Linked DNA regions of Homo sapiens: region 2 is linked to region 1. Evidence: promoter capture Hi-C in human tissues and cell types (Jung and others, 2019). All regions are on one chromosome and are shown on one strand. The core of a region is centred on a gene start or on the middle of the fragment in contact, and the rest is flanking DNA. Distances in the headings are between cores, read along the strand shown.

Region 1 (7,849 bases), core at 5,065-7,564:
GCCAAGGCGGGCAGGTCACCTGAGGTCAGGAGTTCGAGACCAGCCTGGCCAATATGGCGACACCCTGTCTCCACTAAAAATACAAAAAAAAATTAGCTGGGCATTGTGGCGGGCGCCTGTAATTCCAGCTACTTGGGAGACTGAGGCAGGAGAATTGCTTGAACCTGGGAGGTAGAAGTTGCAATGAGCCAAGATGGTGCCTTTGTACTTCAGCCTGGGTGACAAGAGGGAAACTCTGTCTCACAAAAAATAAAAAAAAAAAAAAAAATACAATGGTGGGATGGGCATAGATAGACATTCCCATTCCAAAAGGGAGCAATAGGAAAGAAGAAAGGGGTGACAGGCCTTGACCAAGTCCAAAACCCAACAGAGCAAACAACAGTAAATCTTAAGACTTGAAAATAATCTTTGACTCTGTGCCCCACCTTCTGCACACACTGGGGTGGAAGTCATGCTTCCAGGCAGCACTGTCCCCACAGCTTCGCTTGGCACCACCCACGCAGTGGCCCTCATGTATTGGAGTCCAGTCCCTGAGAATCTCCCAGATTGGAGTTGCATGCTGGTGGCTCTCCTGGTCTGGCATCTCCAGGGTCACTCTGCCCCCATGGCTCCACTGGGAGCCCTAGTGGGGGATTTCTGAGGTGGCCCCAACCCCACAGGTCCATTAGACATTTCCCTAGTGGGGGCTCTCTGAAGTGGTCTCACATCTATGATAGTTCTCTGTCTGGGCCCCAAGCCTCTGTAGGACATCCTTTGAAATCCAGGTGGTCATAGCCATGCCCCCACTGCAGTTTAACACTGCATGGATACCATGCTCCAATGTATCCAATTTTACACTTGTGGGCATGAAGCACGGCGCTCCAGCCATGGAGCATGGTATCCATGGGGCAACCAAAGGGACAACCACTGTAGACCACACTGCACCTAGGCCCACTAGCCACACTTGAGGTGACCAACGAGCTCTGTGCCAGAATGCATGGAGTAGAAATTTGATGCAGCCCTGGGCAGCAAACCACAAAGCCCCAAAGGCATCCTGGGTCCCTCCCTTGAAACCATTCGGACCACAAAACCCTGGCACTCTGGGCCTGTAATAGTAGTGGCAGCCTTGAGGATCTCCAAAATGCCTTGGGGGCCATTTTCCCATCGTCTTGATGAATATCACCTGGCATTCTTCTAGCCATATAAATCTCCCTATCAAACATTCACTTGGCCACACCATTGGTATTCTCTCTCAAACACTTTCTCATTCTTTACAACCTGGCCACGCTGAGAACTTTCCAACTCTTTTAAGTTCTACTTCCCTTTTAACTATATGTTTCACCCTTAATTCATTTCTCTCATCTTGTATTTTACTGTAAGCAATCAAGAAAAGCCATGCTGCATCCTCAACACTTTGCTTAGAGATTTCTTCTACCAAATATACTCTTTCGTTGCTCATAAGTTTTGCCTTCCACAAAACACTAGAACACAAACACAATGCAGCCAAATTCTTTGCCACTTTATAACAAGGATCACCTTTCTTCCACTTAACAAGAAGATGTTTCTTATTTCCATCTAAGACCTCATCAAAGTAGCCTTTACCGTTTATATTTCTACCAATGTTCCACTTGCAACCACTTAAATAATCTCTAAAATGATTGAAGCTCTCTCTACAGTTCTCCTCGTCTTCTGAACCCTCACTAGAAAAACCCTTTATAGTCCGTTCACAGAAATACAAGTTTTTTTCAGCATGAACCTCAAACTCTTCCAGCCTCTACCCATTACTCAGCTGCAAAGCTCCTTCCACATTTTTAGGTATTTGTTACAGCAGCACCCCACTCCCAGCACAATTTCTTGCTTAGTCTACTCCTGCTGCCATAGCAAAATATGTTAGACTGGATAATTTATAAATAATAGAAATGTATTTCTCACAGTTATGGAGGCTGGAAAGTTCAAGATCAAAGTACCAGCAGACGTGGTATCTGGTGAAAGTTTGCTCTCTGCTCCACAGACGGTGCCTGTTGCTGTGACCTCATATGGTGGAAGGGCAGAAGAGCAAGAAGGTACAAACAGACTCCCTCAAGCCCTTTTATAAGGGCACTAATCCCATTCATGAAGGCAGAACCCTCATGACCTAATTACCTCCTAAAGGCCCCACTCCTTAATACTATTGCATTGAGGATTAAGTTTCAACATGAATCTTGGAGGGACATGAACATTCCAAGATAGCAAGATTTATGGCACTGTTCTATCTAAAGCAGGTATTTTATAACCTAAAAAAATCAAAACCATATACGATATCCACATGCAAAAGAATGAAGTTGGACCCCTTTCCATACACAAAAATTAACTCCAAATGGATAATAGACCTAAATATAAGAGCTAAAACTATAAAACTCTTAGAAGAAAACATAGGAATAAATCTTCATGATCTTGGATTAGGCAGAACCTTCTTAGATATGGCATTAAAAATATAAGCAACAAAAGAAAAAAATAGGTAAATTGAACTTCAACAAAAGTAAAAAAATTTTTTTTTTTTTGAGACAGAGTCTTGCTCTGTCACCCAGGCTGGAGTGCAGTGGCATGATCTCGGCTCACTGTAAGCTCCGCCTCCTGGGTTCATGCCATTCTCCTGCCTCAGCCTCCTGAGTAGCTGGGACTACAGGCGCCCGCCACCACGCCCGGCTAATTTTTTGTATTTTTTTAGTAGAGACGGGGTTTCACTGTGTTAGCCAGGATGGTCTCGATCTCCTGACTTCGTGATCCGCCTGCCTCGGCCTCCCAAAGCGCTGGGATTACAGGCATGAGCCACCCCTCCCGGCCTGTAAAATCTTTTTTTTTTTTTTGAGACAGTGTCTCGATCTGTCACCCAGGCCAGAGTAAAGCGGTGCGATCTTGGCTCATTGCAGCCTCGACCCCTCAGGCTCAAGAAATCCTCCCACCTAAGCCTTCTGAGTAGCTTGGACTACAGGGGTGTGTGTGTGCCACCACTCTCAGCTAATTTTTTTTTTTTTTTCCAGAGACAGGGTCTTGCCATGTTGCCCAGGCTGGTCTCGAACTCCTGGGCTCAAGCAATCCTCGCACCTCAGCCTCCCAAATAGCTGGAACTATTTGGAACTATCCCAAAAAGCAGGCACACATCACCATGCCTGGCTAATTTTTGTATTTTTTGTACAGACAGGGTTTTGCCACATTGCCTAGGTTGGTCTTGAATTCCTGGACTTAAGCGATCCTCCTACCTTGGCCTCCCAAAGTGCTGGCATTACAGATGTGAGCCACCATGCCTGGCCAAAAGTAAAATATTTTTATACTTCAAGGGCACCCTCAAGAAAGTGAAAAGAAAGACAACTGCCAAAATAGGAAAAAATATTTGCAAATTCTATATCTGACAAGGGTCTAGAAGTCAAAACGTAGAAAGAGCTATTACAATTCAACAATAAAAAGACAACTCAGTTCAAAATAGGGGCAAAGGACTTGAATAGACATTTCTCCAAAGAAGGTGTACAAATGGCCAATAAGCATATGGAAAGATGTTCAACTTCATTAGCCACTGGGGAGATCCAAGTCAAAACCACAATGAGGTACGACTTCACACCCACCAGGATGGCTATAATCAAGGTTTGGCAAGGAACTAGTGGAACCTTGGTTTGATTTGGAAAGGAGGAATTAGAACTCTCATAAGCTGCTGGAGAAATGCAAAACAATGCAATCACGTTGGAAAACACTTCCTCAAAAAGTTAAACCTATAGTTACCACATGTCCCAGCAAGTCCACTCCTAGATATATACTCAGGAGAAATGGAAACATATGTCCACACAGTAACCTGTACACAAATGTTCATAACAGCATTATTCATAACAGCTAAAAAGTAGAAACAACCAATAAATCCATCAGTTATGAATGGGTAAACAAATTGTGATATGTCCATATAATATAATATTATTCAGCCATGAAATGGACTAAAGTACTGATACATGCTACAACATGGATGAACCTTGAAAGTATTATGTTAAATGAAACAAGCCAGACACAAAAGGCCACATATGCTATGATTCTTTTTATATGAATTGTCGAAAATGGGAAAATTAACAGAGAGATAAAGTAGATTAGCGTTATGAAGAAATGAGAAATGGCCAGGCACGGTGGCTCACGCCTGTAATCCCAGCACTTTGGGAGGCCAAGGTGGGCTGATCACTTGCAGATCAGGAGTTCAAGACCAGCCTGGCCATCATGGTGAAACCCCGTCTCTACTAAAAATACAAAAAAAAAAAAAAAAAATTAGCCAGGCGTGGTAGCGCATGCCTGTAGTCCCAGCTACTGGGGAGGCTGAGGTGGGAGAATCGCTTGAACCTGGGAGGCAGAGGTTGCAGTAAGCCGAGATCATGCCACTGCACTCCAGTCTGGGTGACAAATCAAGACTTCATCTCAAAAAAAAAAAAAAAAAGAAAAAGAAAAAGAAAAAGAAATGAGAAATGACCACCAGTGGGTATAGGTTTTATTTCTGGAAAGTGATGAAGATGTTCTAAAATTGACTGTAGCGGTGGCTGTACAACTCTGTGAACATACTAAAGCCATTGAATCATATACTTGAAATGGGTGAATTATATGGTATGTGAATTACATCTAAAGATTGTTGTTACTAAAGAAAACCATATACATGGTGTCTGGTGATTGAACAAATTACGCACTTGTTGAAACTTGTGTCTCTGAGGAAAAACTCTGCTTAATGCACATTCAAGTGTCAAGTTTCAGAAGGACAGCTGTCATCAGTTAAACGAGTCAAAAACAGTCATCACCCTCAATGTCATTTCGGCTCTTTAATGGATCCCCTAACAACCACTAGCATCTCTTGGGCATTAGCCACTTCATAAGCCACTTGAAACCTGCCAAGTGTACATTTTATCATTAGCTGGAAGGATGTGTAGAATTCCAAAGTCCTCTCTTTGATTTTATAGGTGAGGAAACTAACGCTCAGAAAGGGGGTTGATATCTATCGCCGTGAGGCATACGGTAAGTTTCTGGTGAAGCTGGGATCAGAACCTGTTTAGACTTTGCCTCTCTTTTCCCGCAGATACTTTGCAGGACTTCTATGTCCCTCAAACCGGCCTTCCTGTCATGGTCAGGAAAGAAACTCCTCACAGCCTCAGCATCCAAGTCAGGCCATGGGTGACAGCTGGAAAGTGATCAGGAGGCTGCAGTTTCTAGAAGAGGGTGGGGACACTGCGGAGAGAAGATGGGGCCAGATTCCGAGAAGACAGCATAAGCCCCTGTTCCTGTAAGAGCAGGGACGGAAGCAGGGACATAAACGCAAGGGATGAGCCCCAAAGTGTGACCCATGAGACATGATGTCACATGTGGTCTGGAGCCTGCGGCCACTTCTTCCCATCATATACACAGTTATGAGAACAAGTTGTGAGAACCACCTCCTCCCTTACCCAGCTGCCCCCACCCCAGAAGCCGTGTGATTTTGCCCCCCAGTGCCCTGTGAGTCACTCCACCCATGGAAACCTCACCCCACCCTGACCTCAAGCAAGGCAGAGTGCAGAAGACATGTCCTCCGGTGCTACCAGACCACTCTCACCAGCACCCACGACCTCAGCAGGGCTGGAGCCAGCGTGGAGGCCACTGGCTGTCCTCACAAAGCGAGGAGCAGGAGCCCCTGTTCGAGGAACATGCTTGGAGTTCGGAGCCTGGGCTAGGGTGGGATGTAGGTTGAGCAGGAAGTGGATGGCAAGATTAGAGCAACATCTCTCTTCTCCCACTCAGGGAGGAGGGAATGGCCACAGGCTCTGACACTCAAGAAGGGCCAGGCACAGTTCCAAGCACTTCACAACAACCCCTAGGGTCTACATGACCTACAATCCCAATTGTTCAGTGAAGAAACTGAGGCACAGTGAGGCTGAAGAACCCTACCAGTCCACACTGCTGGTGCATAACCGAGCTGCCCAAGCCCCGGCGGTCTGGCGTGTAGGCCCATGCTCTGAGCCGCCGCCTCTGCTTGCCTCTTACATCCCACACATGCGATGCTGTGCATCAGAAGCAAGGAGATGGCCCTGCTGGCCTGTTCATCAACACCAGGGCCGAGTCTCAAAGTCCTCAGCGCCCCGCCCTCCTCCGCCTGTGTGCCCTGAGTCCCCGAGCCCCAGCAGCTCTACTCGGCAGATGAGCCTCTGGCCCTGCTGCTCGCTTCCTGAGGGCTGTCAGTGGGGAGCCGGATGAGGGCTGAGGACAGGGTGGGTGCTTGTGGGAGGGGAGAGCACAAAGGACCTGTGACCACAGCTGGGGGCGGGGCAGGAAGTAGAAGTGATGTGAGTGGTGGCTGGTGCAAGGAGCCACAGTGGGCTGCCTGGGGGGCTGATGCCACCATTCCAGGAGCCTCGGTGAAGAGAGGATATCCATCTGTGTAGCCGCTTCTCTATACGGGATTCCAGGTAAGGAGAGAGCAGGGATTGGGGGGCCTGGGGCCCTGGGTGGAGGGGAAGAGGCTGATGGAGCAGGAAGTGCTGTGACCTATAAGACAAGACACCTGGGTCACAGACGGTGCCCATCACTAACTCGCTGGGCAGCCCTGTGTCCACCCTGGGCCTCAGTTTCCTCATGTATGAAATGAAGAGGTAGCGTGCAGTTTCTAAGGCCCTGCAAGTGCTGACATTAAAGCTTCTAAGAAAGCTGGAAAGAGGCTCCCTGGGACAGAATACCATGAGAGTCAGGATGAGGGCTGAGTTCACTGGATTAGGGTTATGACTGTGCCCGCCTCCTAGCTGGGATGAGCCCAGGGCCTTTGAAGATTCCCCTGGCCTCTTTGCCTCCCTGGGGCGAGCCACGCTGCCTGAAATTCCACCCTTCAAGTCACACCTTTGGGCAGGGCAGGAGGCTCCAGCTATAATGGGGGCTCTCCATAGCCCTCTTGTCTCAGAACCTGTGGTACCCAAGGGCAAAGGCCTTTGAAGAGCTCAGCTTGGATAAGGTTAGGCTTGGGTAAGGTTAGAGAAAGGAGGTTCCAGATCATAAACAGGCCCAGGCAAGGCCCCAGAAACACCTTAAAATTAGGAAGAACCTTCCAGACAATCATTGTCCATAGTAGGCAATAGGGGGGCCCCTGTCACTGCCGAAGGCCACAGAGCTTGGCAGGGAGTGGCAAAGAGGGGAGGGGCAGCAAGAAAGGATCTGAAGAGCAACCATCGAGGCCTCTCCCCACACAAAATCCAAGGGTGTGGTCAGGTCTGCCCCTTTTTTTTTTTTTTTTTGAGGCAGAGTCTTACTCTATCACCCAGGCGGGAGTGCAGTGGTACGATCTTGGCTCACTGCAACCTCCGCCTCCTGGGTTCAAGCGATTCTCCTGTCTCAGCCTCCCAAGTAGCTGGGATTACAGGCACCCGCCACCATGCCCAGCTAATTTTTGTATTTTTAGTAAAGAGGGGGTTTCACCACGTTGGCCAGGCTGGTCTCGAACTTCTGACCTCCAGTGATCCACCTGCCTCTGCCTCCCACAGTGTTCGGTTTACAGGTGTGAGCCACCACACCTGGCCAGGTCGGCAGATTTTATTCTAGAATTCGGGCTGATGTTATTCCATAAAGCTCAGAGGGAGAGCCCCAAAGGGAAAATGAGAAGAATAGGTGCAATATAGGACCTCATTTCTCTTCCAATTCTGTTAAGGGCTCAGTGGGAGGGAGAGAGGTTAGAGAGAGTGACAGAGACAAAGAAACAGAGTGAGAGTCAGGGTGGGCAAAGGGTGGCTTGTTCTGGGGCCAAAAATGACACTTCTTCAGAATGAAGGCTTCCTCAGGTCCCCAGACCCCTCCCTAAACCTGCTACAGCTACTCTGTCCCCTCTTCTGTGGCCACAGCCCCCTCCCCACCACCCACAGTT
Region 2 (7,849 bases), core at 2,127-4,626, 53 kb before region 1:
GCTGAAGGCTCAGATGATCATTAGCATTTTTTAGCAGTAAAGTATTTTTAAATTAAGGTCCATACATTGTTTTTTAGACATAATGCTATTGTACATGTAATAGCATAAATATAACTTTTATATGCACTGGGCAGCCAAAAAAAATCCTGTTAATGTTGACATTTTTATCTCCTTCCATGAGTCATGAATGTTCTTAATGACATCTCTAATGGTGAATCCTTCCCAGAAGGTTTTCAACTTACTTTGTCCAGGTCAGTCAGACGGATCACTATCTATGGCAGCTATCACTTTATGAAATGTATTTCTTAAGTAATAAGACTTGAAAGTCAAAATTACTTGATCCGTGGGTGCAGAACAGATGATGTGTTAATAGGTATGAAAACAACATTCATCTCCTTGTACATCTCCATCACAACTCTTGGTAACCAGGTGCATTGTTAGTGAACAGTAGTATTTTCAAATGAATCTTTTTTTCTCAGCAGTAGGTCTCAACAGTGGGCTTAAAACATTCAGTAAACTATGCTCTAAACAGATATGCTGTCATCCAAGCTTTGTTGTTCCACTTCTAGAGCACAGACAGAGTGGATTTATCATAATTCTTAAGGGCCCTAGGATTTTCAGAATGGCCATTGAGCATTGGCTTAAACTTAAAGTCACCAGCTACATTAGCCCCTAACAAGAGAGCCAGCCTGTCCTTTCAAGCTTTGAGGCCAGGCATTGACTTCTCCTCTCTAGCTATGGAAGTCCTAGATGGCATCTTTTTCCCATATAAGGCTGCTTTGTCTCCAGTGAAAATCTGTTGTTCAGTGTAGCCACCTTCATTGATGGTCTTAGCTAGATCTTCTGGATAACTTGCTGCAGCTTCTACATCAGCACTTGCTGCTTATACTTTTACATCAAAGAGATAGCTTATTTCCTTAAACCTCAGAAACTGACCTCTGCTAGCTTCCAACTTTTTTTTCTTTTTCTTTTTCTTGTGTGTGTGTGTGTGTGTCAGGGTCTCACTCTGTCACTCAGGTTGGAGTGGAGTGGTGTAATCATGGCTCACTGCAACCTCCACCTCCCGGTCTCAAGAGATTCTCCCACCTCAGCCTCCCAAGTAACAGAGACCACAGGCATGCACCACCACACCCAGTTAATTTTTTTTTTTTTTTTTTTTGTAGCAACAGGTTTTCTCCATGTTGCCCAGGCTGATCTCAAAACTCCTGGACTTAAGTGATCCACCTGCCTCGGCCTCCCAAAGTTCTAGGATTACAGGTGTGAGCCACCATACCCAGCCCCAACTTCTTTTCTGTAGCTTCCTCACCTCTCTCTGCCTTTATAGAACTGGAGAGAGTTAGGGTCATGCTCTGGATTAGGCTTTGCCTTAAGGGAATGTTATGGTTAGTTTGATCTTCTATTCAGACTACTCAAACTTTCTCCATATCAGCAATAAAGCTGCTTCACTTTCTTATCATTCCTGTGTTCACTGAAGTAGCACTTTTAATTTCCTTCAAGAACTTTTCCTTTGCATTTGTAACTGTTTGGTACAAGAGGCCTCATTTTCAGCCTTTTTCTGCTTTCCATATGCCTTCCTCACTAAGCTTCATCATGTCCAGCTTCTTATTTGAAGCAAGATATGCCACCCTTCCTTTCACTTGAACGCTTAAGGCAGCATTGTAGGGTTATTACTTGGCCTAATTCCAATATTGTTGTGTCTTGGAGAATAGGGAGGCCAAAAGAGAGGGAGAGATGAAGGAATGGCCAGTTGGTGGAGCAGTCAGAACACACACAACATTTATTGATTAAATTTGCTGTCTTAGGGGCACGGTTTGTGGCACCCCAAAATAATTACAATAGTAACATCAAAGATCAATAATTACAGATTACCATAACAGATATAATAATAATGAAAAAGTCTGAAATATTGCCAGAATTACCAAAATGTGACACAGAGACATGAAGTGAGCACATGCTGTTGGAAAAATGGCACCAATAGACTTGCTCAAAGCAGGATTGCCACAAACCTTTACTTTGTTTTTTAAAAATGGAGTATCTGCCAAGCATAATAAAGCAAAGCATAATAAAATAGATATGATTGTATACTATTGGCATTTCTGCCTTTTTCTTAGTCCCATAAACTGAAAGCCCGGAATGACCGAGAAGGCCTTATTCGCTGCACCCACTGAAAGGGCAGCCAGGTCGGAGGTGAAGTGACATTTGCTTATTTTCAGGATGACTTGCTCCCTTTCAAACTGGGAGACACAGAGGTACTCATGCTCTGCCTGAGAAATTATTGCCTTCCAAGCCCAGCTGCTCAGAGCCTTCACAAGCCCAGCTTCAAGTCATCCTAAGTTGGAAGTTGTCATCCATGTGTTCCTTTAGAACAGGGAGTTGCCTTTACTTCCCGCCCCCACCCCCCGACCACATCTGGCCATGGAGGAGGGCACAGACCCTTACTGAGCACCCACTATATATCTGGACCCATGGAAAGCACAGCCAGCCCCTCTAATTCTGCTCTCCATTTGCAAACTTTGAACTAAATTCAGATGACTTAAATGTATACCTGCTTGTGATCCATCAAGTGGTAAAGATGGTATTGTGTATGATGTGTAGCATTTCCCCAGCAGAAGAAAATACCAGCTGTGGCTGGGAGGTAGGAGGCCAGGTTCCCATCAAAACTCTGTGGTTAACTGGCTGAGTAGCTCTAGGCAGTGCCTTCCGCTCTCTGCATCCCAGCCTCATCTGAACTATGAGTGGGTGGATGAGATCACTTCTGCAAAGCCTCTGAGCCCTGCTGGTCCATGACTCAGCCCCCAGGCCTTTGCACAGGCTGTTTCCTCAGCCTAGGATGCCTTTTCCCCATGCATCCGCCTGGCAAGCTGAGTCTTCCTTTGAATCCTTTTTCAGTAGCCACTTCCTCCGTGAAGCACTCCCAGACACAGAACCATCCTGCTCTCCCACCAGAACATCATTCAGTACTCTCTCTTCTGTTCCACATCTGTACCTTGGACATAAGTCAACTGTGCTGAAAGGCACAGTAGGCTTCCTGTGCTGAAATTATTCACAGGCTTAATAACTGCAAAATAAAACCTTCAATTCAGCTTTACCTACTGTCTAGCATAGAGCCTGGGACAAAGTAGAGGCCCTATAAAGCCTTCATGAATCAACGAACACATGCATGAACTCTTTATGATTTCTTAACCCTATTCCAGTGTTAGGAGATTGCCATTATGGTCAAGAGAAAGACACACGCTTCTTGCTGAAGCATTTCTTATATGTTTCTCAAGGGCAGGTGCCATTCCTCACTCATCTTTTGTCTCACCAGGGATAGGCACTGAGTAGGTGCTCAGTAAATATGTGTCACATTGAACAATGTTGACATATGACCCCAGCCCCAGCCCTCCACACTGGGAGAGCAGTCTCTCCAGGGGGCTAAATAATTTCTCTAAGAATTTGAACTCATCATCACAAAGGGTGTGTAAATTAGGGATTAGATTTGGAAAGAAAATATCTACATTGGCACTAGTGCAGGGACCTGCAGGCCAAGCTATGGGTGACATGGTGGCATTTGCAAAGAAAACCCCACCAGCTCCAATAGTGTGCTCAGGAGTGTTACGGTGGGTAGCTAGTGAGACATGAACAGGGCAGAAGAGGGCCCCTACACCCCACCAGGAAAATCAGGCGATCATTAGGTGATGGTTAGGCAGTTGTCACACTGCCTCTCTAAAATAGTAATAGGTCTCAACCAGCACCAGGAAAAGGCATTCTGCCTGTAGATAGAAAACACCTAAAACTGGTGATCATCAGTTTCCTATAAGATCTCAGGAGCTGGGCGAGTGGGCTCAAGCACGTGCATTAAGACACGAAATGGCGGAGTTGACCTTCCAGGAGCATTCCACCAGTAAAAGGGAAGAACTCCTCGGGTGAGCATGTGTACAACTCCAGTAAACACACTGCACATGCTACCCCCCAAAGGGCTAGCAGGCCACCGTGCACGCGGGCAGCTCACCCCAAGGGAAGAATCAAGCGAGAAGGCCGGGCATGGTGGCTCATGCCTGTAATCCTAGTACTTTGGGAGGCCGAAGTGGGCAAATCACCTGAGGTCGGGAGTTCAAGACCAGCCTGACCAACATGGAGAAACTCTATCTCTACTAAAAATACAAAATTAGCCAGGCATGGAGCACGCCTGTAATCTCAGCTACTCAGGAGGCTGAGGCAGGAGAATCACTTGAACCTGGGAGGTGGAGGTTGTGGTGAGCTGAGATTGCACCATTGCACTCCAGCCTGGGCAACAAGAGCAAAACTCTATCTAAAAAAAAAAAAAAAAAAAGAATCAAGTGAGAAGGGACGCAAGACCCCAGAAGCATGCCAACGTATAAAACCCCAAGTCAAAAGGTCAAGTCCTGCACTTGTTCTTCAAGTTACCTGCTTGGGCCTCTTCGAAGTGTATTTTCCTTGCTTTCATTCCTGCTCTAAAGCTTTGGGGGTTTTGTTGTTGTTGTTGTTGTTGTTGTTGTTGTTGTTGTTGTTAGAAAGAGTCTCGCTCTGAAGCCCAGGCTGGAGTGCAGAGGCACGATCTCACCCCACTGCAGAGTTTCAAGTGATTCTCCTGCCTCAGCCTCCTGAGTAGCTGGGATTACAGGCGCCCGCCACCACGCCCAGCTAATTTTTGTATTTTTAGTAGAGATGGGGTTTCACCATGTTGGCCAGGCTGGTCTCGAACTCCTGACCTCAAGTGATCCGCCTGCCTCGGCCTCCCAAAGTGCTGGGATTACAGGCATGAGCCACCACGCCCAGCCTCTAAAGCTTTTTAATAAACTTTCACTCCTGCTTCAAAACTTGCCTTGGTCTCTCCTTCTGACTTATGCCCCTCAGTCAAATTCTTTCTTCTGAGGAGGCAAGAACTGAGGTTGCTGCACACCTGTATGGATGTGCCACCACAAGCAAGAGAACCATTACTACCATGGTTTATGGTCCAGGCTTAAGTAAAAAGGTTCCCAGGGAGACAACATCTCCTACCAACACAACAACAGTAATATTGATATGTTCGTGGAGTAAAGTGTGGGTCTTGCAGGCTGCTGTTAAAAGGCTGTGCTTGTCCGGGCATGGTGGCTCACACCTATAATCCCAGCACTTTGGGAGACCGAGGTGGGCAGATCACTTAAGGTCAGGAGTTTGAGAGCAGCCTGGACAACATGGCGGAACCCCGTCTCTACTAGAAATACAAAAATTAGCTGGGTGTGGTGGTGAATGCCTGTAATCCCAGTTGCTTGAGAGGCTGAGGCATGCGAATCGCTTGGACCCAAAAGGCGAGAGTTGCAGTGAGCTGAGATCATGCCACTGCACTCCAGCCTGGGTGATAGGGCAAGACTCCATCTCAAAAAAAAAAACGGGGGCTTCTGCTAAGAGCTCCACCCGGGACAGCTGGATATGCCAAGTGTCACCCAGCCAGGGATAACTTTTCCTCCTTCCTTCTCTTAGGACTCAAGGTCAGATTAAAATGGATTCTACTGTGTTTTTTTCATGTAACCCTCATGGGGTAGGTATTGTTTTCATTTCACAGACAAGGCAAACTGAGGTCCAGAGAAGTTAAATAACCAGCCCAAAGCCACACAGCTAGTAAGTGGCAGAGTTGGGATGTGGAGGTAGCTCTTCAGACTCCAAAATCCACTCCCCATTCCTCACACTCCTTTAGTGTCTGCAAACTCTCAGCATATCATTTCTCGCCAAATCATTCACCTCATGACAGTTCCTCATAGTGCAGGGCCTGCCACAGTGCCTAGAGCTGGGCTGTACCACAGCCATAACTCAGGATAGACAGTGAGCCACTGATTAAGTTCTGCGCTCAAGGCAGAAATCTCTCCTGCAGCCTGGACTAAGGAGGTGAGAAAGGAGATCAGCCTCCAGGGTTGAACCTTGGGAACTGAGTGCGGCCTGATACACATCACCTCACCCAACAGCTGATGACGACTCCCCAAGTGGCCACGTTAGTCACCGGCCCACCACATGCACTGCGGTTCTTTTTATAACTCCGAGCAGCTGAGCCCAGCGGGGCTGTACAGCCGCTCCACGTTTAAGGCTCCACAGGCCTGCAGGATATGATTTTTGGCAAGGACTCCAGATCAATTAGCCAAGTCAGCACTGGGAAGCTGGGAGCTTGTGGGGTGGGAACCAGGTCAGGAATTCTCCCAGGGCCCCTGACTCAGTCAGCAGATGGCTACCTCAGGCCAGTGGAGCAGAGCAGAGGCCTTGGGTGGAGGGCTACAGAGAGCCATTGAAAGACAAGGTCATGGAGACAGCAAAGCACCCAGAGAAGTAAAGTACAGTGTGCAGGCCTAAATCCGGAATGAGCTAAAAAAGGACTCTAGATTGCACGTTATGAGATGTGAAACTAGGGCCCCTGAGCTATGTGCTTCCCAGAGTCCTCTCCAACCATCCAAGACGAAGCTTCCTCCTACTCGGAAGTGACTGACCACTGAATTTTCAAAATAGGTGCACACACCACCCCAGCCCCCGTGCCTAGAGAGCAGCTGAGAGGAGGAGATCTCTGTCTCTGGAGGCTGCCACACCCCATGACCTAAGATTCTTACTAAGATGGGGTGGGTGGGGAGGGAGGTAGAGTCAGAAATTCAATCCCGGTGAGTAGCTTTTGTAATGAAAGGTGCACCATTGTCAATGTCCAGAAAGCCAAACACAAGACACAGATTAGGTTTATCAGTCTGAAGAAATGTCAGTAGTGGAAGTTCAGGTAGTCCATCTGCTGGGAGGGCAATGCCCCCATGCTTTGGGTTTTAGCAGCCCTGTGGCCAGCTAGGCTCAGTTTGGACCCACCTGGAGCTCTCTATCAGCTTTGGGGACTCCTTGGCCCTTCCTCCTCCTACCTGCAGGAGGCAAAAATAATAATAATAATAATAATAATAATAAAAAACAAGAAAAGTGTTGTTGAGGTAAAGTGAGAGCCTCATTAATAAGAACAGTGGGGGACCCTTACTCCACAACCCTCACCCACCACTTGGGGAGAGCATTTGTTACCAGATCCAAGGGGTCTTCCAGAAAGCCATGTCTCCATCAGCACCCATCCTTGTTGTCAAAACTGTAAAGAGCTATGAAGTGTGAGAGATGTTGCTCTACTTTTAAGCTAATCCAGTTTCCTGGAAGAAGACACAAAAGTCCTGGGTCAGAGACTAAGGACACTGTTGCTCAGGGGACAGCAGGCAGCAAGATCTTCATGTTACCCTCACACTCCCGGTCCCACAGGGCCAATGTGGAGGCAGGCCCATGTGGATGCTACCACAGTTTTGTGTCACAGCTGAGGGACACAGCAGAAGAAACCTCCAAACTTAAAAGGGGGCTGCGGCCAAACATGCCTGTTAGGTTCTAGCCCAAACTGAGGTCTGAGGGGAGTCAGTGACTGGGTGGCAGGTAGCTGGGAAAACACTCAAGGAATCATAGGCAGTTTCAACATGGCTTTATTCTCTCTCTGGGCGTGAGCCATATGTACAGCATCAGCAGGGTAATTATACCTTTTACAGACAATAGTGGCTCCAAGCCAAGCACAAGCTCAGGTGAGTGGTCCCCTAATGCGCCTCACATGGCATGGTTACATAATGTGTATAGTTATGCGCCTGCGCTCCAAACCCACTGAGTCATGCTGTGCCAGAAGGCCACCTCGGCCTACTCCTGACTAAAGCACAGCCATTTCCCTTACACTCCACCTCCTAGACCAAGGGCATCTTCCAGGTGGGGATACATGCCCATAGGGCAGATTTCTGAATCCACAACCCACAACAACAATACAGAGAGCAACAGCTCACTACTAGGATCCCAGCTATGCTACTTATGACTATTAGGGCCCAGCATAGGCCAG

The links. Contacts are between HindIII fragments. The study calls those that stand out against the background at their distance.
Region 2: a fragment that was not itself captured here is called in contact with the fragment with the promoter of PRF1 in region 1 in 2 of the 25 tissues and cell types used here (H1 embryonic stem cells and mesenchymal stem cells).

What each region holds. Positions count from the first base shown.
Region 1 is chr10:70,601,206-70,609,054 of GRCh38, reverse strand. PRF1 (perforin 1) reads left to right here and starts at 6,314. Exons shown (of 3, transcript NM_001083116.3): 1 at 6,314-6,410. The HindIII fragment of the contact is 18,183 bases long and covers 1-7,849 here.
Region 2 is chr10:70,651,596-70,659,444 of GRCh38, reverse strand. No RefSeq gene overlaps it. Among named protein-coding and RNA genes, the nearest start is that of ADAMTS14, 17 kb to the left of the region's middle. The HindIII fragment of the contact is 4,466 bases long and covers 1,144-5,609 here.